Linked DNA regions of Homo sapiens: region 2 is linked to region 1. The links are contacts of gene promoters, found by promoter capture Hi-C in human tissues and cell types (Jung and others, 2019). All regions are on one chromosome and are shown on one strand. Each heading gives the region's core, a stretch centred on a gene start or on the middle of the fragment in contact. The rest is flanking DNA. Distances are from core to core; before and after follow the strand shown. Region 1 holds the start of GTSE1 (G2 and S-phase expressed 1). Region 2 has its middle 14 kb from the start of WNT7B.

The links. The method cuts DNA at HindIII sites, captures the fragments that hold promoters and counts their contacts. A contact is called where the count stands out against the background at its distance.
Region 2: a contact is called between a fragment that was not itself captured here and the fragment with the promoter of GTSE1 in region 1, in 3 of the 25 tissues and cell types used here (dorsolateral prefrontal cortex, mesenchymal stem cells and spleen).

The regions. Positions count from the first base shown.
Region 1 is chr22:46,295,351-46,301,071 of GRCh38, reverse strand. It overlaps GTSE1 (G2 and S-phase expressed 1), which reads right to left and starts at 4,202. Exons shown (of 12, transcript NM_016426.7): 1 at 4,141-4,202; 2 at 3,593-3,692. The coding sequence starts at 3,671. It overlaps GTSE1-DT (GTSE1 divergent transcript), which reads left to right and starts at 4,412. Exons shown (of 1, transcript NR_024009.1): 1 at 4,412-5,721. RefSeq lists an enhancer at 3,685-3,794 and a silencer at 3,945-4,144. The HindIII fragment of the contact is 16,228 bases long and covers 1-5,721 here.
Region 2 is chr22:45,988,430-45,993,544 of GRCh38, reverse strand. No RefSeq gene overlaps it. Among named protein-coding and RNA genes, the nearest start is that of WNT7B, 14 kb to the right of the region's middle. RefSeq lists an enhancer at 483-982. The HindIII fragment of the contact is 8,090 bases long and covers 1-5,115 here.

The DNA of each region.
Region 1 (5,721 bases), core at 2,953-5,452:
GTTGATACACAATATTCATCAAGATAAATTAAGCCTGAAAAACAAGATTCAGGACAGGGCTCTCCATGCTATATGGAAAGGGGGATGCAACACTCTATGCGTGTTGGCTTGCACCTGCACAAATTATGTCTGGAAGGATACCCAAGAGACTGATGACATCGATGGCCCTTGGAAGGGCAAGTAGGTGACTTAGAGATATAGAGAGGCAGACATTTCACTTTTTACACCTCTAAATTAGGAAGTCAATTTCAGAAACTTCTAATGGTCTGGCGTGGAAAAAGAATCCAGGACCAGAACTCAGGGAAGCAGTCTTCTGCTCCAGGCTCTGTGACTGGCTCCGAGGGGTCCCGGGCTGGCTGACTTGCTCATCCTGCAAACACATGAGCACCCACAACAGACCACATCCTTCGCTAGGTGCCAGGCAGGCTTGGGGTACATGCAGCCCACCCTGGAGGGTGCCTCAGGCAGTGCGGTGAGAGACATGTAGAGGTGGGAACACCTCTGAGAAAATATCAAAGCGTGTGTGAGAGGAACGGGTCAGAAGTCAGAGTGGCTGGAAGAGGTGAAAACACAAGTTGGGTCAGATCACAGAGGGTTTGCAAGCCATGGCAAGGAGCTTTTATTTTCTCCAAAGTGGGATAGGAAACTATTACCGGGCTTTAAGAAAAGAATTTTAGGCCTGGCGTGGTAGCTCATGCCTGTAATCCCAGCACAGTGGTAGGCTGAGGCAGGCGGATCACTTGAGGTCGAGTTCGAGACCGTCCTGACCAACATGGTGAAACCCCGTCTCTACTGAAAATACAAAACTTAGCTGGGCACGGTGGCTCATGCCTTTAATCCCAGCTACTCAGGAGGCTGAGGCAGGGGAATCACTTGAACCCAGGAGACGGAGGTTGCAGTGAGCCAAGATGTCGCCACTGCACTCCAGCCTGGTGACAGAACGAGACTCCATCTCAAAAAGAAAAAAAAGGCTGAGCACAGTGGCTCATGCCTGTAATCCCAGCACTTCCGGAGGCCCAGGCGGGCAGATCACGAGGTCAGGAGATTGAGACCATCCTGGCTAACACAGTGAAACCCCATCTCTACTAAAAAAAAAAAAAAAAAAAAAAAAATTAGCTGGGCGTGGTGGCGGGCGCCTGTAGTCCCAGATACTCAGGAGGCTGAGGCAGGAGAATTGCTTGAACCCAAGAGGCGGAGGTTGCAGTAAGCCGAGATCACGCCACTGCACTCCAGCCTGGCCAACAGTGAGACTCTGTCTCAAAAAAAAAAAAGAAAAAGAAAAAAGAAAAGAAAAGAGCTTTATAATCTAACTTGTGTTTTTAAAAGGTGACGTTACTGTGTAGAAAGTGTATCCGAAAGGAAGCAGATAATATCCCCTGACATTACAAATGCACATATTAGCCAACGGGAAGTAGAAGCCGGTGAGACAGCGTGGCTGAGACCCAGACAGCAGCATGTGGATGGAGATGGAGAGTCTGTAGATGGATTCAGGATATCTTCTGAAGGTGGAGAAGACGTTAGCTGGTGATGGCATGAATGTAGGAGGTTCTCAGCTTGCACAGCTGGGTGAAATGGAGAAATAAAATGGGTGATGAGAAAGACAAAAAGAACAGGGTATGCAGATGCAGAGGGGGTATGCCAAGTTTGAGATGAGACGTGCATGTGAAGACGCCAAATAGGCAGGTGAATATACAAGCCCAGAGCTCGGAGGAGAGGCTGCGCTCAAGACAAAACGTGGGTGCCGCAGAGAGCAGATACGCTGCACAGCTATTGGAATGCTGACCGCCCTGAGGGCGAAAGCACAAAGCGGTCCCAGAGCAGGTCTTGGGGAAATCAGCCTCAGAAGACAGCAGAGGGGGAGCCCCCGACAGAGAAAAGATACACCAGCCAGAGAGGCAGGAGGAAAAAACCAAGAGCGTCTTGGACTCCAAGCAAGGGAAGTTTCCAGAAGGACGAATGTTACTGAAAAGCTGACTGGCGATAGAAAAGTGAAAAGAGATTCAGCAATGTGGAAGTCGTCAACGACTGATGAAAGCAGCTTGAATGGAGTGGTAAGGACAGAAGCCGGAATGGGAGGGATTGAGAGGCGGAAAAAAATGGCATAACAAGTGAGAAAGCTCTCAAAGTTTGGCTTGGAAGGAGAAACACAGCAATGGAGAGGCAACGGAGGAGACGTGGCGACAAGTGAGACAAGGGAACATTATCTGTATGTGGATGCGCATGATCCAGTAGTGGACAGGGGAAAAGTAAGGAAATGAAGTCAGGTCAACGGAAGTGGGGAAGGCCTCAAGAAGGAGCAGGGGGTGCAGTATGCACGTGGAAAGGACATATTTGAAAGGAAGGACATGACAGGAAGGAGGAGAGGGGTGCAGAGGCAAGCGCCTTGCTAGATATGAAGATGCAACATTGATTTGTAAAGTCTCCAGGACAGTTCCTGCAAAATGGAGGCATTGAGGATGCTTGGGGCCAGGCGCGGTGGTTCACACCTGTAATCCCAGTACTTTGGGAGGCCTAGGCAGGTGGATCACCTGAGGTCAGGAGTTTGAGACCAGCCTGGCCAACATGGTAAAACCCCATCTCTACTAAAAATACAAAAATCAGCCAGGTGTGGTGGCGGGTGCCTGTAATCCCAGCTACTCGGGAGGCTGAGGCAGGAGAATCGCTTGAACCCGAAAGGCAGAGGTTGCAGTGAGCCAAGATCATGCCACTGCACTCCAGCCTGGGAGACAGAGTGAGACTTGGTCTCAAAAAGAAAGGATCCTTGGGTAGTGTGAGAAAACTACCCAAGGGATGTCAAAATGCTTTGTGAGGCTGGGTGAGGTGGCTCACACCTATAATCCTAGCACTTTGGGAGGCCGAGGCAGGCAGATTGCCTGAGCTCAGGAGTTCGAGACCAGCCTGGGCAACATGGCAAAACCCCGTCTCTGTTAAAAATACAAAAATGAGCCAGGTGTGGCAGCGGGTGCCTGTAATCCCAGTTACTAGGGAGGCTGAGGCAGGAGAATCCCTTCAACTCAGGAGAGAGAGGTTGCAGTGAGTACAGATCACGCCTTTGCACTCCAGCCTGGGTGAGAGAGCGAGACTCCGTCAATAAATAAATAAATAAATAAATAAAAACGCTTTGAGAGAAAAAGAGGGTGTGGCCTGTAACTCATTCTGTGAAGCTGTACCCTCACCTTGATACCCAAACCAGTCAAAGACACAAGAAGAAAGGGGTTTGGGGCCAGGCTTACTCATTAACATGGTCTCAAAGATCCTAAATAAGTCTTAGCAAACAGAAACCAGCGACAAACAAAAAAGAAAACATCGAATTCAATACAATAAATATTTGAGAGCCCACAAAGTGTTAGGTGCTGTTCAGGGCATGGGAGCACTGCGGTAAATAAAACGGATGAGAATCCTGGCTGTGATGAAACTTAAAATGGGGAGGAGGTGAAAGAAAACCAGAAAACGAAGGCAGATGTCATGTGTTTCACAGGTGCAGAGTACAAGTCGAGCACTTGAGAAAGAATTTCTCAGGGAAACATTAAATCACCCTCCATCTCTACTGAACATCCTGAACAACAACAGCGCCGCAGCAGCAAGGACTTGCCTTCCTTCTTAGGGTCATCCATGTTCACGTCCCCTGCCCGGCAGGCTGAAGGCTCATCGCGGCCGCCGCCTCCTTCCATGGAGAGAGCTGTCAGAAGTCACTGCAGGGTGGAACGGGGCCAGAAAGTGAGTACGTGTCAGGGCCCAGGGCTCCGGCTTCCTTCAGCCCTCGGCTCACAGAGGCAGAGAGAGCTGAAGGCCGCGGCCAGGTCTGGGAGAGGCGGCGCGGGGGCCGCTCTGAAATGATCGCATCCCAGGGGACCCCAGGGCCCGAGTGCCGCCAGGCCGGGAGTCAGCCCGAACGCCATCAGACGAGATAACGGAATTCTCGGCTTCTGGGCCAGAGTGTTGGGGGCTCTGTTTGCCTGGGGGGCAGCCCTAGACCTCCCGGCATCCCCGACCACGGCGCGAGGGGCCTCAGTGACCCCTGCTCGAGCCCAGGCCCGGCTCCTGGCGGGGCGCGGCCCCTCCCCGTCCCGAAAACGGCGGGCACCGCGCCGCACCGGGCCCACCGGGCAAGCCTCGCCCCCGACCCTGACCCCACCTTACCCAAAGCGGCAGACGATGCAGGACGCGCCTCCGGCACGGATTTAAACGCGGCGCCGGGAGACGCGGGTTGCCGATTGGTCGGTTTGAAAAGGGCTCCGAGAGGCGGCGGGCTGGGTGCGTCCTGGGTATTGTAGTCAGGACGCTGGTAAGAAGCGTCCAGTGCGCATGCGCACTGCTTCAGCGCAGCGAATGGCTCCGCACAGCGCCAGGGATCACCCACCCGGAAGTCTGCCCGGCCTGGCCGCCAAGTGTCACTAGGTATCCGCGTCAAGCCGGAACCATGTATAGCAGCTCCTTGTGTGTAGGGAGAAAGTTAAAACTGCCATCTAAGGGTGTCGATGGGAAGACTAAAAGTAGGCTCACCCACCTGCTGTGAAGCAGCGCGCGCGAGCTGTTACTAACAGTAGTGAAAAGCCGGGATCCCTGCCCCCGAGGCACGCACTGGGGCGCCGGCTGACCCAGAGACCTGAGGGAGACTCATTGCCGGAGCTGCACAGCCTGTGGGGCTGGAGGGGAACCGTCGCCCTTGGCGGGCTTCCCCAACCGCCAAGGCCTGAGGACCGCCGAGGGCGTGGCGGGAGCCTGTCCTCGGTTTTACAGGCCGGCTGGGGAGCTGCGTTGGAGGAGAGAGCCAGGGGCTGGGGCCCGGTGATGGAGCCTGCCTTGGGGAGTGCATGTGTTGGAGAGAGGTGGGAAGCAGATAGGATAACCCTGACCTGAGCCATGGAGACGCAAGGACAGGACTGGTAGACGGGTCAGTGGGCAGCAACTTAAGACTGACCTCGCTTGAGCCTTTGCCTGCGAACGAGGTATAATACCCACCTCGGGGGCTTGAGGATCAAATGAGGGGCTCCACCCACGGCAAAGTGTCACTAAGCGGGATGGAGGAGGATGCAGGAAGAGGAGTCTGGGAGGACCCGCTCTGAAAAGGATGGAACTCGAGAGCACCATTTTCAGGGACGAAGATAAGCTGTTTATTTGGGGCAGGCTGTGGGGAGAGCTGTGCAGCAAACAGCCACCCGGGGCCCAGGGCAGAGGCCTTCCAGGCTGGCTCGGGCACTTCTGGGTCCCATGTCCCTGGTTTTGCATCATCCATACCAATCACTCCATGTTGCTATGTTCCTTCACCAGAAGACTGGGGGCTCAAAAAGGGCAGGGCAGCCCTCACTCACCAGTCTCCCCAGCCTCACCCAGCTCAGCACAGGGCACCAGGCAGGGGCTGAGAGTGCTGGGGTAGGTGGGTGTGGTCAAACAGCTTGGAAAGAGTTTGGCCTGCTCATTGCATTCCCCTCAGCTCATCCTGGGGATGTCTGCTCATGGGAGAATGGCAGAGGGATCCCCAACAGTCATTCCTGATACTCCTCTCCCTGTATCATGTCAGCACATAGTAGGTGTGGCCTATGTATGGCAGATTCATTTCTGCCCCCAATAGGATTTGCTGTAGTTTGGATGTGTGTCCCCTCAAAATCTCATGTTGAAATGTGATCCCAATGTTGGAAGTGGGGCCTGGTGGGAAGTAATTGGGTCGTGAGGGCAGATCCCTTATGAATGGTTCAGCACCATCCCCTTGGTGATGAGTTC
Region 2 (5,115 bases), core at 203-2,702, 300 kb after region 1:
ACCACCACCACCATCATCACCATCACCACCATCATTATCATCACCTCCACCATCACCACCATCATCACCATCATCACCATCACCGCCATCATTACCATCACCTCCACCATCACCACCAGCATCACCATCACCACCATCATTCCATCACCTCCACCACCACCATCATTCCATCACCACCATCATTACCATCACCTCCACCATCACCTCCACCACCACCACCATCGTCACCATCACCACCATCATTACCATCACCACCATCATTACCATCACCTCCACCATCACCTTCACTACCACCACCACCATCATCATCGCTAACAAGAACAACAACATTTGCCAAAGAAGCCCTCTCAATGGTCATCACTGGGTAGCCCATGGTAGCCGCGGCCATGTTTGTGTGTCTCCCACAAGTACCTCAGGCACCGCTCTGCACTCGAGGTGTTAGGGGAAGGTAGAGTGCAACAGCACTGGCCCAAGACCTTCCCAGAAGCTGCTCCTGAAGAGACAGAGACAGACACTGTGCAGTGGGTCCAGGCTGAGATGGGAAGGCAGAAGGTGTGTGGAGGCAAGGGAAGGGAGCATCTAAGGTTACCTTGAACAACCAGGAGGGCTCCCTGGAGGAGGTGCCAGCCACCTCAGTAGGCTGAAGAGGAGTTTCCTGGTGAGAAGTTTGGAGGAGGGTGATCTAGGCAATGTGCCCCAAAGAGAGCATGAGGGATCAATAGGGACAAAGGGTAGTGGAAACCAGGGCTGGAGCTCAGTGCAGGTCGGTTTGATGAGGGTGGGTGCAGGGGCTATGCTCCTGGGAGCCCCAGGGAAGTGCCTGCAGGGGCCCTATGGGGACAGGGCAGGCCCTATCACCCCATTTTAGAGCAAAAGACTGAAACTTCTGGGAGAAGGCCACTCACCCAATGCCGGTTTGAAGCCGATGGCTGTGTGGCCCCATGCGTGGCTCAGCAGGCTTTGCTCCTGCTCATCTCCGTGCCGTCCCTCAGCCAGGAAGACGGTTTCTTGGACTGTCTGCCTGGCTCACCCTTCAGGGCTCAGCAATGGCTGTCTTCCTCCAGGAAGCCTTCCCCGAACACCCCTGCCCGCTGCCTGTCTCCCTGGGGCTCTCATGGCACTGGGCTCTTGTTAGTTTCTGTGGCATTTTCCTTTGAAGGCTGATTTCTCCCCAAGGCCCTGGGACCCGGCCAGCATGGCCTGCCCATCGAACATAGTTGATGCCACCCCTCCGTCTCCTTCTGCCACCAGTCCTGGTGAATGAGCCCCTGGCCCAAATGGGCGAAGATTCTGCCTCGACAGGCTAGAAGCTTGCCCATGCTCTCCCCGCCGGGATATAACTGTGGGCCCCTCTGCCTGTCCCTCATCTGGCCTTTTCCATGCCTGCCTGGCCTGTGCCACAGGTCCTGGTGGGAGTGAAGGAAATCTTAGCGTCTCATAAAGTCTGCAGCTCTTTCTCTGGGCTTTTATTTTATCTTATTTTTTAGAGACAGAGTCTCACTCTGTCACCCATGCTGGAGTGCAGTGGCATGATCTCGGCTCATGGCGACCTCTGCCTCCCGGATTCAAGCCATTCTCCTGCCTCAGCCTCCCCACTAGCTGGGATTACAGGTGCGAGCCACCACGCCCAGCTAATTTTTGTATTTTTAGTAGAGATGGGGTTTCACCATGTTGGCCAGACTGGTCTCAAACTCCTGACCTCAGGTGAACCACATGCCTCAGCCTCCTAAAGTACTGGGAGTACTTTAGGAGGAGTGTGAGCCACTGCTCCTGGCCCTGGTGGAACTTTTAAAAGCCCAGAGAAAGACCGGGCGTGGTGGCTCACGCCTGTAATCCCAGCACTTTGGGAGGCCAAGGTGGGTGGATCACCTGAGGTTAGGAGTTTGAGACCAGCCTGGCTAACATGGTGAAACCCCGTCTCTACTAAAAATACAAAAATTAGCCAGGTGTGATGGCGTGCACCTGTAATCCCAGCTAGTGGAGAGGCTGAGGCATGAGAATTGGTTGAACCTGGGAGGCGGAGGTTGCCGTGAGCTGAGATCACGCCACTGCACTCCAGCCTACGCGACAGAGTGAGACTCAGTCTAAAGAAAAAAAAAGTTTCCACCACCAGAAACAGCCCTGCTGGATGGATCCTGTGCAGTAATATATCTGTTTTAATAACTCAGTGGTCCGCAGTGCCCTACGACTACAGCACCAGCTGTAGGCAACATAATTCAATTCAGGACCCAGCCAGCACTCTCTGAGCTTTCCGTTTGACTTGCACGTGTTTTAATCTCCTGGGATCCGGATCAGTTTCCTCCTGGCCTGGCTCAATGAGAAGACCACATTTCAGCCACTTTAACTGGTGAGGAAATTAGCTTGATGTGTATATTTGAGGCATGTTGATATGTGTCATGATTCCCACCCCTCAAAATCTTTGTATGTTGGCTCCAGTTCCTGAAAAGAGTGTTATAAAAGCCCCAGCCCCTCCTTTTGCCAGGGACTTGTATGTACCCATTTCCCACCAGGCAGGGAGGGCAAAGGCACCTCAAGCGCTGAGAGGTGGCCCAGGATGCTGCACTCAGGGTACAGCTAAGAGTGCATTAGAAGTGGGGAGTGTTCGGGAGCTGCAGCTCTTTGTGGTCTCAGGCAGCCAGGAAATAGGGTACATGGGCAGGACCCACTGTCTCAGAGGTTAGGCCCTGTCCCTGGCCTTGGCCTGGACTTTCTTACTGCCTGCTTCCATGGGGTGTCTCACCTATGCCCTCCACCTAGCGCCTCCCTAGGGACCCTGGCTGCCCACCTGAAGGGGGTGACGGCTGGGCTGCCTCCCTGACGTGCCATCTGCTCCCTCCTTTGGGCACAGCAACTCTGAAGAGCAATCAGCCCCAGCCCAGGTGGGATCACTGCAAATGTGGCCTTCAAACTCCAGTAATCCTGGCAATGCCCTGGTCTCCGCAGTTAGTGTGACTCGCTGGTTGAGCTGAACACTTAGCGTGTGCCAGGCCCTCACTTAGGGCTTCATGCGCCCACAGATCAAGGTGCTGGGTGTCCTTTCACAGATGGGGAAGCTGAGGCTCGGGGTCACAGAGCCTGGTGGTCCACTGTCCCCGTCTCCAGACTCTGCCCCCAACACCCACTTTCTGTTCACTGTGGACCCAGGATCAGCTGTGACAGCTCCCGAGGAGGCCCCCCAGCACCCTGCTGGGTAGATGGTGTTACCTCCTTAAACCTCCCGGTGATGTGGACATTCACACCTTTGGTTGAGGTGTCCTGGAGAGGAATGATTTGCCCGAATCCCACGGCGTGTACACGGAAGGCCCGGGTTCGAATTGGACTCAGTCTGAGCTGTTGCCCGAAGTCTTCCGCAGCTGTATAGCCTTACAGCTATGAAGGCATTTTCTGGGCCTGGGTTGGAGCCCACCCTCACGCCCTGGCCACTGCCTCCTGATGGCCTGTGTGCATTCTCAGGCTGAAATGGGGACCCCTGTGGAGAGGGGCTAAGGAGTCCAGGTCTGTGTGCCAACCTCCCTAGGCGGCCCCTGCAGGGAAGGAAGATTGTATGGTCCAGCCAGGGACCCCAGGCCGTGGGTCTGATGCCAGATCTGCCAGCTGTAGTCACCCAGTAGGAGATGGCGAAACAGCCCTGGGGAACCCCACTGTCAGCACCAGAGTTCCTGGCTCCTGGGGCTAGCATGCTGGGGCTCAAACCCCTGCTTGATGACTGTGTGACCCTGGCAGCCTCCCTGGGTCTCGGCCTTCCCACCCTTAAAGCAAGAGGTTCAGACCAGATCAGTGGTTCTTGGTCGTTCATGGGTCCTGTGTGGTGTGGGGGAAGCAGGCCAGTTTCCAGGCGTCGATGCCATCAGTGGTCAGCCCTGGGGCTGTGACTCTTGGTGCCCAAGACTAAAACAGACACCCCATGACTTTCAGGAGATCACCCTGACAGGTAGGATCGTGGCTGCAGGTTTGCTTAAAACGAAATTGTTTATTTGGGCTGTTCTGATTCCTGCAAGCAGGAGCTCAGATGTGCCTGTGGCTCAGCTTAAGCCTGGCCACCCGGTCCCTGTCCTGGGGGTGTCCACGAAACAGGATGAATAGAATCTGGGTCCTCCACACCAAAAAGTCCAACGCTCATATCTTAGACCAGTGGTTCTCAACTGGAGCCAATTCTGCTCCCCGGGAGACATTTGGCAATGTCTGGGGATACGTTTTGTTGTCATACCTCAGGGGATGCTGTGTGCTAAAAGCGTCTAGTGGGCAGAGGCCAGAGACGCTGCTGAACATCCTACCGGGCACAGACGGTCCCCACCACAGGGAACGATCCTGCCCTGAATGCCCATGGTGCAGCCACAAGAAGCCCCAGCGGAGACAGGCAGCTGAGTGCTCGGTGTCGGGCCCTTGCCTAGAAGGATGAGGTCCAAATGGTGGCCTGGCTTTCGGTGGCCTTTGTGGCCTAACCCAGCCTCAGCCCTGGGTGCTGGGCACTCTGGCATCATGTGCTAGGTTAGTCCCACTGGGTCGTGGCACTTTTAGAGGGTGGGCTTTATGCAGGGAACTCTGGAAGGCTCAGATTCAGCCTTGGGCATCCATCTTCTCCCCATGGGGGACTCAAGCAGGAAATCAAAGGACTCTTCATTCTGTGGTGGGAGGCACTGGAAAGGGCCTTCCCTCCTCCTCCCTCAAAGCTCAAACCTGGATCTTCCACCAGCAGTCATCAGTGCAGGGTGGAGGTCAAAGTGACCCTCATGGAAGGAGGAGGTAAAGGACTGCCCAGGGCACATTGCTTTTGCCCACCAGCAAACCCAGCTTAGCCAGGGTCCTGGAGCTGCCCCATCAGGGCGGTGCTGGTCGGTTGCCACAGGCGAGGAGTGATTGTATGTTGGGGTCAGGGAGGGCCAGGAGCATCCCTCTCCAGACTCAGGTCCTTGGCTCTCCTACCGAGGAAGGGGTTCATGGACAAGCGCAGACCAGGCCTCACCTGGACTCCAGATCCTCATCTGCAGAGATGGGGGCTCGCCCCTGCCTCAGCCTCACTCAGCACACCTGGCCCTCATCACCTCCTCTCTCGGCTGACTGCCAGGCTCAGGCAGCCTGGAGTTTTGGTCAAGGTGCAGCTGGATGTGCTGGGCA